Regions from separate parts of the Homo sapiens genome. Here region 1 is linked to region 2. The links are contacts of gene promoters, found by promoter capture Hi-C in blood cells and fetal thymus (Javierre and others, 2016). All regions are on one chromosome and are shown on one strand. The core of a region is centred on a gene start or on the middle of the fragment in contact, and the rest is flanking DNA. Distances in the headings are between cores, read along the strand shown.

Region 1 (7,155 bases), core at 3,420-5,919, 320 kb after region 2:
AGTGAGGAGGCGATGATCCAGAGGGGACAGGATGATGTGCTTGCAGCAAGCTGCGGCTGGTGGAAGGCTGAGCAGTGGCCAGCTCTGGACATGTACTAAAGGTAAAGCCAGCAAGATTGGATAATAGATTGGATGTGTGGTTTGAGAGAGGAATCACTGATGACTTTCAGATTTTGAATCTACACATTTGAAAGGATGGAGTTGCCATTTACTTTGGAAAAGGAGTGCAGGAGAAGCAGATTATTTGGACGATGGAACATTAGTCTCAGGATACTTGAAGTCTGGGATGCCTGTGAACACCTGAGCAGAGATTTTGCGTAGGCTAAAGTTTGAGAGGTCCAGACTGGAGATTCACGTAGGAGCTGTCCACATAGTGCTTGTACTTCAAACTCTGGGACTTGGTGATCACCATGTGATATCTCCAAGTATATATATTAAAGAGAGAAAAGAACTAAGCAGGGGACCTGGGAAGGAAAATGCACAGGCAGCTCCGTCTCAAGGAGAATTGTCAGAAATTCCTACTACACCATTTGCAGCCTCACCTTGGAGGACAAGGTCAGGAGAGGCAGTGACTTGGTATCTCCTTTCCAGGGTGGCCTCCTCTTCCCAATCCCTTAAGAGAACTTGTGTCTACCTGTCCTGTTGCCTGGAAGGCATGGGTATACTCTGGAGTCTAGAAAATAAATTTGTCTTGTAGCTAGAAAAAGATTTCCTGGGATCCTTGTTGCCCTGGGTGTTTCCATGATCACCGCGACTCTGTCGAGTGTCCCCCATTGCTTTCCAGACCCTCATACCCCCTTCATCTGATTTAACCCTGGTGCTACTGGGGCAGACAGAGTAGGGTGCCTCTGAGTGTTGGGGTGGAGAGTCACGCTAACATTACCAGTGAAAGCAAGACACCTACGCATCCCTCCAGGTGAAGGTCTCATATAAGCTGAGCTTGGATGGTAGAAGCTAGATGAAGGGAGGCTGCATTAGATTGTACCTGATGGCCTCCAATCCACTGCCCTCACTCTGGACAGAATGACCTGTGCAGAATGGGCATCTCATCCCATCTCTGGCTGCCCCCATTAAGATCTTCAATGGCTTCTAAAGACCCTCAGGAGAGAATGCAAGCTTTTTATCAAGACTAACACAACCCATCTTGGTCAGGTCTTGCTTACTCCTCCAGCCCCAGTTCTAGCACTCCTAAAACTTCTACATATGCTCCAGCCCTGCTGAACTACTTGTGGGTACTAAAATGATCCACATTCTCTCCCACCTCCCTGAGCTCACGCGAATTATGTTTCATTTTGCTTCCATGCCTGGAATTGTTAAACATGTTTGGCTATATTTTAAAGATGAACACCATTTACAGTAGCTTTAATGGCATTCTCTAAGCAGAGCTCAGTTGCCTGGGTCCAGGCTAGATCATGGTAAATGAAGCACAGGCATTTCCTCTGACCAGAGACCCAGGGAGGGATGGGGCCTCTCATGTTCCTGACACATTTTCGTGGAGCTATATGTGCTGTCATCTCAGAGGGTAAGTCAGGGGTTGCTGGCTGAGCACTGGAACTCTTGGGAATGGGGTCACATGGTCTTGAGAGGAGCAGGATGATGGTCGTGGGATGTGGGACCAGTAGTGGTGGCAGCAGAGATTCTTAGGGAGACAAGGCTAGAGCTTGGCATGCTATTCAGGAAAATGTTCTCCCAGGCAGGGCAACACATGTCCAGTACTTTGCATGATGCTGTTGATTCACTGAATATTCCTGGAAGCTTGTAGAAGCTCCGTGGAGTGTGGCAGCATGCACCTCTGTGCTAGGCAATCACCATGGAGTAGCTTCTATGCAGAACTAAGCATTAGGGTTTATTTATTTTTGCCATCTCCCTACCAATATGACTTGTTCTCAAATAATGCTAAGGAAAGAAAGGTAGGGTGAGAACATGGCTGCTTTCCCTATTAGATGTGGTCATGTAATAAAAGATTCTGAGGGATGGAAAACTGGTAGAGGTACATCCAGGCAGAGAAAGCTCAGTTCCATTCCTCTCCTCCCTCCTAAATTATTCTGCCAGGTTCTGGGATTCCCATAAGACGATCAACAAACTTCTCTATGCTTTCACCTTCCCTGTCAATGTGTTTGCATCACCTTTCCTTACTTGGTTCTCCTCTTCTCCAGACACTGATTCCTGGACACTGCTACTTATTCTGCACCCTGAGTGCCCTAGGATCTGGGCACAGGGGCTGTGTCTTACTTGCCCCTTATTGTCACCTCCAGACTATCATTCCCTCACTTTGTTGTCAGGCCGATGTTCCACCAAGGATCATGCCATTGAGTCCCCTAGGCTGCCAATGCCAAGTGCAGAATCCTGAATATGCACTTACTCGTGAAGACTTTAATCTTTAGCCCATGATCCTCCTCTCTCCTGAAGGTCCACCATCATCCTCAGTGACTTCAGTACATTATATGGGCAATTCCTCCAACACAAAGGCCCCTCAGTTTGACCTCCTCATCTCCAATGACCTTCCTCTTCACTCCACGTAAGCCACTTTTGCTCTTGGTCAAACTCTGGGCTGATCATGCCATTCACCTAAGTCAGAGTCCAGAGTCCAGATTCCCCACTCTCCAACACTCCCTTGGATCCATCTAGCTCACTCACCCAACTAGTTTCATACATCAGTTCTTTGTCATTGCCTAGTTATTGACTCCTAGATTTTCCTCTATTTGCCACATCCTCCCTTCACCTCCGTCCATATCCAGCCTCAATTCCCAGGTCTAGCATGGCAGCCACACAGTCAATGATATCAGAAACTTCCTTGCCTTGATGCTCTCACATTGCCTCTGTCTTGTAGAACTCTAGCCCTGGAAAATCTCCTGGCTGCCACCTCTTTAGTTACACCTGGTCAGCTGGATGCTATTTGAGAAAAACCACATGACCAGGCTCATTATTAGCAATATTGAAGGTCACTCTCAACAAGGTCCTCAGCACTGCCTGGCAGTCCTACTGACATTTGTCAGCAACTCATTCAGTTCTCCTCTACAAAAATGTCTTCACTTTTCCAAACCAATTCATTCCTCCACCACCTCTTTCATCTCAGCTACCAGTCTTGCTTCCTTCCTGTAAAAGAAAAGAGGAGCCATCAGAAAGGAACGACCTCCATTCCCAACACCAAATCTACACACCTACCTGCGTTCAGGTCGCCCCTTCCTCCTCTGCCCCTGTTATAACAGAAGCAGTATCTCTCCCTTTCTACAGCAATCCCTTTCCCTGGGCCCTGGCCTTTGTGTTCTACTTCAATGGGGTCTTTCTCATCCATTCAATATCCCTTCCAATGTTTATTGAGCACCTGCCAAGGCCAAAGCTGTTCTAGGTGCTGAGGAAAGAAAGATCACCCTCATAGATCCTACGTTCTAAATAACTATATACAATAAGCCAATGATGACAAGTGCTGCAAAGAGACAGGCACATATGAGGCAAAGAGGTAACTCATGAGGAGGAGCTGCCATTTTACATGGGACAATTAGGGAAGACTTCTCTGAGGAGGTGGCATTTAAGCCAAGACCTAAGATCATGAGGGAGCTTGTGTTCCAAGTACTTAAAGACCTTCTCTGCTGGCTACTTCTCTTCAAACGTGTGGTAGGTAAGACTCTCAATAAATATGAAGTGCATGCTTTTTCTACTATTGAACTTAACTTCTCCTTCAATCTGTCATTCTATGCAGTGGTAGAAATTTAATCTCCATCAAATTAGGGTCTATCTCATCCTCAACCCTCTTAATGTTGCCGATGAGATGCCTTAATGACCTCTCCAAGCCCATCTCACACTATTCTCTCTTCACATGCTACATGCCATATATAGTGAAATGATGGTATTTTCTTGGCTATGCCATGTGCTTTCTCATCTCTGTGTTTCCACAGGTGCAAACACTTCTTGTTTTCTCTGGAAGTCTCTCTAGCACCCGCCAATGCCTGCAACGAATCCTTGACTTTTACTCCATCGTTAGGTCTTAGTTCAGATATCTGAGTTCAAAGGCTCAGGTATGCCTTTCCTGACACCTGATCCAGCTTGCATTCTGCTGTTTTATGTTCTGTTGAGGGCCAATTATACAGCTGGCCCGTGCTGGTTTGGTCATATCAGGTTATTAAAATATTGCAATGCTTCTTTGCTGTTAAAAGTAGCTGCTGTCACCCCAGCCCCTCACAAAGGAATTTGTAGGTGGCTCTACCTGGCCCAGAGAGGATCTCCAGGGCTTTGCTCCAACACTATGGCTGGTGTTCACAGAATAGAGTCTGTAAATATTTTTAACATATCCTAAGACCTCATGCTTTGTTTAGTCTCTGATTTGTTTCTCTTTCTCACTGATCTCTGAACTCCTCCAGGGCAAGTTCTGTGTCTGTCTTCATTACTACTTTATCCCGGCACCACATACAGCACCTGCTACAAAGCCAGAACTTGATATTTGTCAGTCTCATGAATGACAGAGTGAATGAGTGCATGAGTGAAATGATTACACGTGCATACCAGCCATGGTTACCTGCCCATGTTCATCTGTGTGTGCGCAAACAGGGCCTACAGCTGGCCAAGAAGATGCCTTTGACAGCCACACAGCAGTGCCCACTGTCCAGTACCCTGGAGGAAGTCCACACCTCTACCCACAAGGCTCACATGTGCCTAGAGAGGTTCTCTGCTCTGCCTGCCCAGCCCCTGGTCATGGGTCACCACCTCCTCCTTCCTCCAGGCTGGTGGCAATGTCCAGTCAGTGAGCAGCACCTTCACGATGGGGAAGAGCTGGGAAGACTTGAGTTAGAGGACCTTGAAAGGCAGGATTATTGTTATTGGGTCTACCTGCGTGTCCCAAAGCTGTGGTTATCTGAGGCCCAAGGCTGACCATGCAAAGCCTTGGAGCCTCCTTGCTTGGAGTCTCCTCCCTAAGGGGGAAAACCTCTGGGTTGAGAGACTGAGAAAGAGCAAAGAGGAGGCCAAGTGTGATCTGGGAAGGGTCTACTGGTCCCCAGGTCTAGGTGTCAGTGACCAGGGAGAGCATTGTGCTGTTTCTCCTTCCTGAAACTGAGCTTCCAACCCCAGCTCAAAACATGATAACCCACAGGGGTCTGTTTAGAGTGCTTCCCATGGGGATGGTCATACACAGGCTGTTGGAAAGGTGGCTGTGAGCATGAGGAAGTAGGCTTGGAAGATCGCTCACACCAACAGGTGTTGGATCTTCCCTAGGGAGCCTCAGTTTGGAGCGCAGGAATCTAGCCCACAAGCCCTGCTGTAGTCCATGTCCTGATGCTGAAGGAGGAAAGAAAGCCCGTCCTCTGAGACATGGAGAGGGTCTGTCATGGGCAGACCCAGGCTGGGATGCAGCAGCAACTCTCCTCCCCACCACACTTGGCCAAGCTCCTCCATCATCCCCTACATCACCCTTCTGAGTCTCCCGAGGCACTGTTTAAACTGCACATTCATGGACTCCAGCCCCAGAGATCCATACCTTGGCTATGGCATGGGACCTGGAAGCCATACCACAAGTGTGATGACTTGGGTCTGGGGCAGGAAGATTCCATTGCATGTGGTCCTTAGACCGCACATAGAGAAACTGGCAGGTGTGCGGCTGGGGAACATCTCCACCATGAAACGCCTGGCCTGAGGTCCTAGCACCATCCAACTGAGGCTGGGGAAACTCTTTCAGGAGTTTCTGCGGTTCCATGTAGACAGACAGGAAATGCTGTAGACACAGCCATGTGTCTGGATGTTGGCAAGACAATTCCCAAAACCCAGCACACTTCACCACACATGCTGGACGGCAGTTAGCACCCCAAAGGAGCTCAGCTCAGCTGTGTGGGGAAACAGCAGCTGAGATGATGTAATGCCACAGGGACAGATGGAAACTCCTGCACACTCTCAAAAAATCCAACCACGAAAAGTGCACGCTGAAGACAATGGGGCTCAGCAACAGAGAATATTTGAAATAGAAAAATAAAAGACTGGGGTCTAAATGGACTATAAACTCAATATGAGAGATGATGCATTGCAGATGGTCAAAAATACTTGTGATACTGAAACTGACAGTTTGATTTATTTATGTGTAACACTTCTATAACACTACGTCTGGCCATGCTTTAAGCACTCCACAAATATTTATTCATTTAGCACTTAGAACAATTCTGAGTAGATACTATTATTAACCCCATCTTACAGATGAAGAAACCGTGGCAAGAGAGGTTCGATCATTTGCTGAGAGTCACACAGCTAGGAAGAGGCAGAGACAGGATTAGAACCCAGTCATGAAGTCTCCATAGGGAGCAATGTATAAGCCAGCATTGGTGTGGTGTAGCCCTGCTGTGGTGCTCTGCCCTGCTGTGGTGTAGCCTCCAGGTCCCATGCTATACCCAAGGAGAAGTGATGGCCAGGGGGCCCGTCCAGGGCAGAAGCACTGGAGGCTGAAGGAACTCATAGCCATGTCTGATGAGGAGCATGTAGAGGAGTTGAGTATGTTGAGCTTGGGGAAGAAACCGTGAAAGCAGATGGGAGGGTGGGAGGAAAAACATACACTTTGAACAGCTGTCTTCATGTATACAAAGACTGTTGTTTAGAAAAGAGGGTGGACTTAATATTTAATACTCCTGAGGGCTCAAGTAGAACAAACATTGTAGGGAAGTCTGTTTTATACACACGAAAAACAGACCATTCTGTTTCTTGGAGTGGCTCTAAAAGTGGACAGTCAGTGCCCTTAAGCAGAGGCCAGGCAGCCGCTCTTCAGGCCTGGGGAGAGGAGACTGAGGCATCAATGCACAGACGACCCTGTTCAGATTCTAGATGGCTTTGATAGCAACAGCCCTGATCTCCCACCGAGACCTGGACCACTGAAGGCAGAGGAAGCAAACAGCCAACACAATCACAGCCATTGTTCCAGGTCACCTTCCAAGTACGGGCAGTGAGCTGAGCTGGCAAAGGTCAGAATGCACAGAAGTGCTGGAGCGTGCAGGACATGGTGTACCAAGGAGCAGGGGGGCCTCAAGAGGGAGGGGAGACTTTCAAGTGGCAAAGCCTACCTGCCCTTTACCCCCATCTTGCCCCCAGGGAAGACCCAAGTCCAAACACACTCCAAGATAAGAGATTGTGGCATTTTTAGTTACTCATTAGTTCAGTATTTACTGAGGTGAAATGTTTACTGAG
Region 2 (7,428 bases), core at 1,079-3,578:
CTGACAGGACTATAAGGAGGGAGGTTTGCAGGGAAGAATGTGTCTCTCACTCTTAGGGGCAAAATTGGAAAAATTTTTATTTTGGGGGCCCCAACCTTCACTCTCCCCACTCTACCCCCTGCCTGTTCTCTCTATCTTTCCTCACCATCAAAACCTCTTTTTTAAGGAAAGAGTCTGATAACATTCATTTACATAAATCTGTAATATTTAATGTGGTGATTTTAGATGTTAGAAGCAGAAGTCTGAAATCAAAGACACTTAAATACAGCAACCATTAAAAAAAGACGTATATAATTCACTGCATCTAGCACAGGGCTAAACCCAGTGGTTGCTCCGCAAATATTTGTTGAAAGATGTTCAAAAAAGCCTTATTTATATTATCAAACTCCACAAACAATATAAATATGCAAAAATGGGGAAACCATTGCAAAATCATCCATATGAAGAAATATTACATAGCTATAAAAATATCTAGAAAAGCTTTTTAATGATCCAGAGGAATAAATGCTTATACTGATGTTAGGCAAAATCAGCAGGATTCAAATTGCTACTATAATATGTCAATTATAAAAATCATATGCACATACAGAAGACAAAATCTATGAGTATCTCTGGAATCTGTGGGATTTGGGGTTATTTTTAGTTCTTTCTACTTTTCTGTACTTTTGAATTGTTTATACTTGGAATGAGAGAAATAGCCCAAAGTAAACGTTGTGGAAGATTTACTTGGGGGAAGAAATACTTTTCAGGGGTCCAAGCTAATTACACTGTACTGGTGTGGCCCACTTGGTCTATTATAGAGGAGGAAAGTGGGGAAGAGATGGGGCCTGTCCAATAAGGATGGATGTCCTGACAGTAGAGGATGGACTTTTAAAAACTGCTACAGCGGCTGGGTGCGGTAGCTCACGGCTGTAATCCTAGCACTTTGGGAGGCTGAGGTGGGCAGATCACGAGGTCAGGAGTTCGAGACCGGCCTGACCAACATGGTGAAACACCGTCTCTACTAAAAATACAAAAATTAGCTGGGCGTGGTGGCGCGCGCCTGTAATCCCAGCTACTCAGGAGGCTGAGGCAGCAGAATCGCTTGAACCGGGAGCAGAGGTTGCAGTGAGCAGAGATGGCGCCACTGCACTGCAGCCTGGGCGACAGAGCGAGGCTCCATCTCAAAAAAACAAAACAGAAACAAAACAAAACAAAACAAAACAAAAAACCTGCTACAGGAGTGGGGAGGCCGACCTTTGAAGAAAAACGGAGTACCCGGTAACATTAGTGCTTTAATGCCTTTGAACTTATGCAGACTTCCTCTGTTAGAGGGTTTCAGTGTTCTAGGCTAATGGGTTAACCTGACATCTAGAACACCTTTCTCACATTAGTTCCTTACATACCCAAGCCTTCAGGTGCTGAGACATGATTCTTTTCACCCCGCTTTCTCCACCCCCTACTTTTGAAAACACGGGTGGAATTTTAATTAAAGCCTATTGTGTTGGTACCTCAGTAATATTATACATTAATATCTTTAAGAATTAAGGTCACGTCCCCATGTAAGAAAATATTATTTAATGACGCTTCTATATCATAATACCTATATAAAAGCCTGGCTATTTTAATAAAGAGACCACAGATTTCAGAATTTATAAACAGGAAAACATTTTCTTCGGGTTATTTCTGGAAATCTCTTCCAAACATCGGAGTTTTCTTCTAACTTAAGTCTCTTCCCACCTCCTTCCCAGGGGATCTGCTGAAGGGTGTTGTATGTCTCTCTGTGGGAGAGCAAACTTCACAGTTAGGATAAAACAAACAAACAAACAATATCCAAACAACACCCAGCAACGGCAACCCCCATCCCTCTCCAAAGTTCTAATTTCCCGCACTTAAAGTCCTGGGCTATCCTTGTGTTGCAAGGATCTTAGAATCGAAATGGAGGGATTTGACAACTTTACCTAACCAAATCTAAAATTTTGCTTTTATTATTTACTAGTTATCAAAATATGCAAACTGCTGATTAAGGAAGGCTGGGTAGCAGGAGCGCCTGCGAAGGCGTAGGGTAGAAGTGTGAAAAGAAATCCCAGCTCTCCCAGGGAGACTGCGTGTGAAAGAGCCCGGCTCCCCCAAAAGCTCCAGGCCGCGTTTTGCAGGCTTCCGCATCTGCCTCCCCTGTCTCTCTTACCTCCTTGATGTTCGGCACTATTTGTGGCCGGCGTGGTGGAAGGACACAGTGAGGTTCTCACCCCCGCCCCCCGCTCCTCGCTCCCATCCCAGTTCCATCAAAACGAACCCGGGCCAGCGCAAGGATCTCCGAGTTGCGAGTGTGCTGAGGCTGGGACTGTCACTCATTCTCCGATCAGCGCGTGAACGCAGCTCGGCTGCCGCTGGCAGGAAACAATTCTGCAAAAATAATCATACTCAGCCTGGCAATTGTCTGCCCCTAGGTCTGTCGCTCAGCCGCCGTCCACACTCGCTGCAGGGGGGGGGGCACAGAATTTACCGCGGCAAGAACATCCCTCCCAGCCAGCAGATTACAATGCTGCAAACTAAGGATCTCATCTGGACTTTGTTTTTCCTGGGAACTGCAGGTACATTTTTTTTTTTTTTAATTCTCAATCTGGTTTGCTAATTACCCCTTCCTCCTACTCCTAGGAGGAACGCTATTATTTTGGGTGGTTTTACGTGGACTGCTAAGGCTGGTCATTTTCGTTTAGCTGTGAAAGGAGCGCGTCGCCCTTGCTGCCCAGCCGAACCCCGCTCCCTCCAGGGCTGCGCTGCACGGGGCTGCCTCCCCGAGCCGCCAGCGCCCGGCGCCCCTCCGGCGCGTCCGCCCTTCCCACTTTGTGCGCCCGCGGCGGTGGGAGCAGAGCCGGCCGGCTCCTGGGGACTCAGCGGCCGCGCTGGTGATGGGCAGCGCTCCTTCCCCAAAGGCGGGCGGCGGGGCGGGGGAGGTCGCGGCTCGGGTGGTGCCGCCGCACGGGCTCGGATTCCGAGGGGGAAGTGGCTTGTCAGCCCCGGCTCCGGGAAGAGTGAACAATAAGGCTAGGGCAGCCGCCCCAGATCGTTATATTCCTGGGTCTAATAAAGTCAGGATCGCTGCTTTGCTTCCCCCGCCCCAGAAGAATAACGGTTTGCAAAATGGGGCAAAATGGGCAGAATCGCACGGCCGTTGTTGTTGGTGTGACCGTTGTTGCACCCCAGTCGACATGACGTTAGTTTTTCATTTGCCAAATTGCTGGTTAGTTGCAAAGCCTACCCTCGGCCGCGAGCACTGAAGGATGGGAGGGTCGAGCGCCGCGTTTTGACAGGAGGAAGTGCGGAGGGGCGGAGGGCGAGGAGGGCGTGATTGGGGCTGCCTGGTGTGTGCGCGCGCGTGTGCGCGCGTGTGTCTTTACACGCGCCGCGTGCCCAGTGTTGCACGGGGCGGGAGAAGAATGGCAGGTAGCCGCCCGAAACACCTCGCCCTGTCTCCTTTCTTTGGGCGAGGTTCCCGATCCTGGCAAAGTGTGAACAATAGGGAGCTGGGAGGAAGACAGTAGTGATGCTGCCGCGGGTGGCGGGGGTTGCGCCGCCGCCCAGAGAACCTCGGCAGTGTGCAGGGAGGTGCATTTCATTTTGGCTATTTCCATCCCGGCCTCCCTGGAAAATTCTTCTGTGCGTGCCCACCCTCCCCTCCAGCTGTCATCCCCCCACCTCCACCCAAGGATTTGCGCTTTGGCTCTGATGGACGGGAGGGAAGGAAGAAAAGCAGGGGCCGCAGAGAGCTGGGTGGGTTGGGCGGACATTCTGGGCGGGGGGCGTGTGCTGGGAAGCGATCGAGGAAAGCCGGGCGGAGGGGCTGTGTGTCGCGGTCGCAGCTCCAGGTACCGTTGTACCTGCCCTGGACGGCCGACCCCCGGTTGGGGAGCGCACGGGGCGGGCCAGGGAGCACCCAGTGCGCCCCCTCCGCGGGCGGCACAAGAGCAGCGCTCGGCCGCCGCCTCCAGCCAACTCGGGTCCCTCCCACGGCGACCAATCAGTGCGAAGCTGGCTGGGCGGGAAGCCGCGAGAGGCTTTTATTGCGGCGCGGGTGGCGGCCAGGAGCTGCCAGGACAGTCTCCCGGTGCTTCAGCCTAACGGTCTCGCTCACTCACCGCCAAGAGAAACCCCGCCCTGCGGCCGGTCCCCCGCCTGCCCGGCAGTTTCCGAGGAAATAAAATGGAGACTAGGTGGTCACCGGGAGTGCTCCTGGTCCGGCCGCCCGTGCTCGCCCACTCTCGCCTCTTTCACGCCGACTTGGAGCATCCCACCGCCCCCGCCAGCGCTCACTCTCGCGCCGCGGAATCCGGGCCTGAGCGCGTCGCCGGGGAGGGCATCCTGGCAGGCACACCTACGCGCGTGCGCTGACCGGCCGACCGCGGGCCGGGGGCTCTACTGACGGCGGGGCGGGGCCGTGGCAGGGCCCGGAGAGGAGGGGTGGGGACCAAGCCTAGTCCGCCTGGCCCTGGGTCTCCGCTGCCACCTGGGCGGGGGCCACCCCGGTTATGCCCCTTTCCGCGGTGCCCGTGGGTGCCGCGACGCGACCTGTCCACATGGGGCGGGGGAAGGGGGGTGTTTTTGAGACATCCTCGCCCCCGGGTGGGAGCGTGACAATGGAGCCCGGATATTTGGTGGGCCTTTTGGGGGATCGCCTGGCGGTCCTTTCCATCATCGTGATGGGTACAGTCATCAGTATTTGGATCCCGTGGAAGTTGCAGGCCCAGGAATTCCCACTGGGATGTTCCTGGATGCCCAGGCAGGGGAGGCATTCTAACCAGTGTTCCCTGGAATGAAAGCGACCTCTTTCCTGGCCCGGTACCTTGAGGATGGGAAGAAGGCAGAACGTGAAACACATACAAGGTTGCTTAACAAAAGAAAGAAGTTGAATGGTTTTCCAAAGAGAAATAATTTCCCATTAAAATGTCTTTTGTACCATAGTTTTTTTTTAAAAAAATCAAAGAATTCAAGTCAAAGGGTTAGAATGAAAATGAAAACATAACAACAAGTATATATACATATGTATATATATCTGAGGTTTTTTTTTTGTTTTTTTTTTTTTTGTTTTTTTTTTGGACTCAAATGTAGCATGTCCAGGGCAGTGGTAACTGAGTTTGTGTGCTCGGCTGGGTGCATATGAAAATTTACATATAAGGCAAGCTAACCTTAATACGTCAAGTGAGTCCGATGGGCTGCCCCTCTCCTCTTTCTGTGTCCTCTGCTCTTTAGAAATACAATGAAAGGTTGTGCAATTGCATAGTAAATTTGAGTTTATTCTAGTATAAATTTTGGATGTTTTGAAGAATTGTTCGCTTGAACGATCTGGAATGGTTAAGTCACATGTTTACTTGATAATTTTGCAGTCTTCTGCCAGTTAAACTTGCAAGAGTCAAGGAATGGATAGGACTGGGTTTCTAACAAGATACCATCGGTTAAGAACAAAGAGCTACTTTACAAAAGCTAACATTGAAATCAAGTAGTATATATAATATCTCTCACTAAGCAAATTAAGGTGCGCTTCCACAAAGTTGACTGTGAGCACAGTTATAGTGAGCCATATATTTTTGTTGATTTTCATTTGAAGACTGAGAATGTGTGTTTTTAAACAGAATTTCACTGAATGTAATAAAGGCTATATAAGAATGTGGAAAACCTTTCACAACTCTAACCAAACCCTAGAAAGATTATTTTCTTTCAATAAATACTAGCATATTTAGAAATATTAATAACTGATAATTTGTTTTAAATCCAACAGAGTTATTAAAAACAGGGAATATAATCCAGACATTGTAGACGTGTGGGCTATGATTTATGTAAGTTTTTGAGTTACTATTCCCTCTATAAAGGTCTTAAAGATCTGCTAACCTAGCTAAGCTTCCATTAGTCTTTAACTGTTTTCTTAAGTTAATGCTTTATGAACGCCCTCTTTCTTTCCCTAAATTGTTGAACCTGATAACTTCCTTCCAGATACCTTTATCTAGGATTTTTTTTTTAAAAATGGAATACCAGAAAATAGCAGGACATATTCTTGTTTAGTAAAGGAGTTTCCTCTAAGTCTTACAATGATAATTGATTAAACTAAGAATATGTTGATTTAACTGGTGACTGGTTTCTTGAGTTTGATAGTTCAAGAATTAAGATAGTAATTGCAAAGAAAAAAAAATCCCACATCAAAACTGAAAAAAAAATGATGTGGGTGTGCTATTTGTAAGGGATGTGGGTGTTTACTGAAGGCAGCAATAAGAAGGAGAAATTAGTCTGTAGCACCCCCAAATTCCAAGTTTTGAACAGTGCTTCTGTTTGGAATCCATTTATCATTAATTGAATTCCTCAGATAGGTAATATGTAATTTAATGGAAGTAACCTATATCTGTATTTTTCTGTCACAAGGAACAATGTCTTAATTGCCTTTCAAAGTAAACAGCACCATTTTGTCACTCAAAAGCTAATCTTTAGACATGTTTTTGTTCACTACAGAACCCAGTTTCTCAAATTATAGAGAGCATTTTGTAAAATTTACACTGCTTAAATAATGGACTCTGGAATTTCTGATGCAACCACTTAATTTTTCAAGGTGATGAAGCCTCTGTTAAGTATGAGTTTGATAAATTTCTCATAATTTTGTCTTTAGTATTAAAGAACTGTGGCTGCTCTCCAGACTGAAAGTGGCTTCAATACTACTGGCAGGCTTCCAAAGACATTTTACAGACAGTCCTTTCTGACTTAGTGTAAAATAAGTGATTGAGTACCTGTTGCTAAAGAACGGGTTGCACTTTTAGGATCTTGAGCTTGTGATGGAGAGCAGAACCAATTGGCAGGCCAGGGAGAGAAGGGATCGCACCTGCCCCCGTCAGTCTGCGGGAAGAATCATAGACTAGGAGGAGACAAAGACATCTTATAAAGGCTCTCCTGCACCAGTTCAGCATTGCTTTTTTGAGCACACACATGTTTTCTGGTGTCAAGATAAATATTTTAATGTAAATTCCATAATTGATCATTTTTCAGTTTAGCAGTTATAACATATAGACTAAGGAATGTCTGGAACTTTAAAAGAAATGGCAGCACATTACAGGGAGCATTTTACTGATCTTAAAACTGGGTTACAAATTACACAAAATTGAAAACATTAATCACGTGGCTGTATAAAATGAAGTCATTTGAGCTTTTAATAAAAGTCACTAAGGTGAAAATTCCTTTGGTTAAAAAGAAAGAATTCTAAGTAAAATTCGAAGAAGAAAATTTTTTACTTTTCATAATATACTCAGTGACTCTGAGCAATGCTGTAAGAGATGGTCTTTTAGGAAGGAGGAAATGTCCAAGGACCTCTGAATCCTAATGATTAGGTTTCTATGAGCTCCAGAGTTTTCACTATTCGAAAACATTGTAGTGAAACTATTTTTAACAATACAGGTAGATATGCTTACTACT

The links. The method cuts DNA at HindIII sites, captures the fragments that hold promoters and counts their contacts. A CHiCAGO score of 5 or more calls a contact.
Region 1: a contact is called between a fragment that was not itself captured here and the fragment with the promoter of NCAM1 in region 2, in 1 of 17 cell types (M1 macrophages). The highest score is 5.6, in M1 macrophages.

Annotation. Positions count from the first base shown.
Region 1 is chr11:113,281,495-113,288,649 of GRCh38, forward strand. TTC12-DT (TTC12 divergent transcript) reads right to left here. Exons shown (of 5, transcript NR_199709.1): 2 at 543-3,096. Among named protein-coding and RNA genes, the nearest start is that of NCAM1-AS1, 11 kb to the left of the region's middle. The HindIII fragment of the contact is 5,832 bases long and covers 1,754-7,155 here.
Region 2 is chr11:112,959,092-112,966,519 of GRCh38, forward strand. It overlaps NCAM1 (neural cell adhesion molecule 1), which reads left to right and starts at 2,329. Exons shown (of 20, transcript NM_181351.5): 1 at 2,329-2,573. The coding sequence starts at 2,522. It overlaps NCAM1-AS2 (NCAM1 antisense RNA 2), which reads right to left and starts at 4,369. Exons shown (of 3, transcript NR_120563.1): 1 at 4,119-4,369; 2 at 2,276-2,385; 3 at 188-1,760. RefSeq lists an enhancer at 2,272-3,049. The HindIII fragment of the contact is 5,394 bases long and covers 479-5,872 here.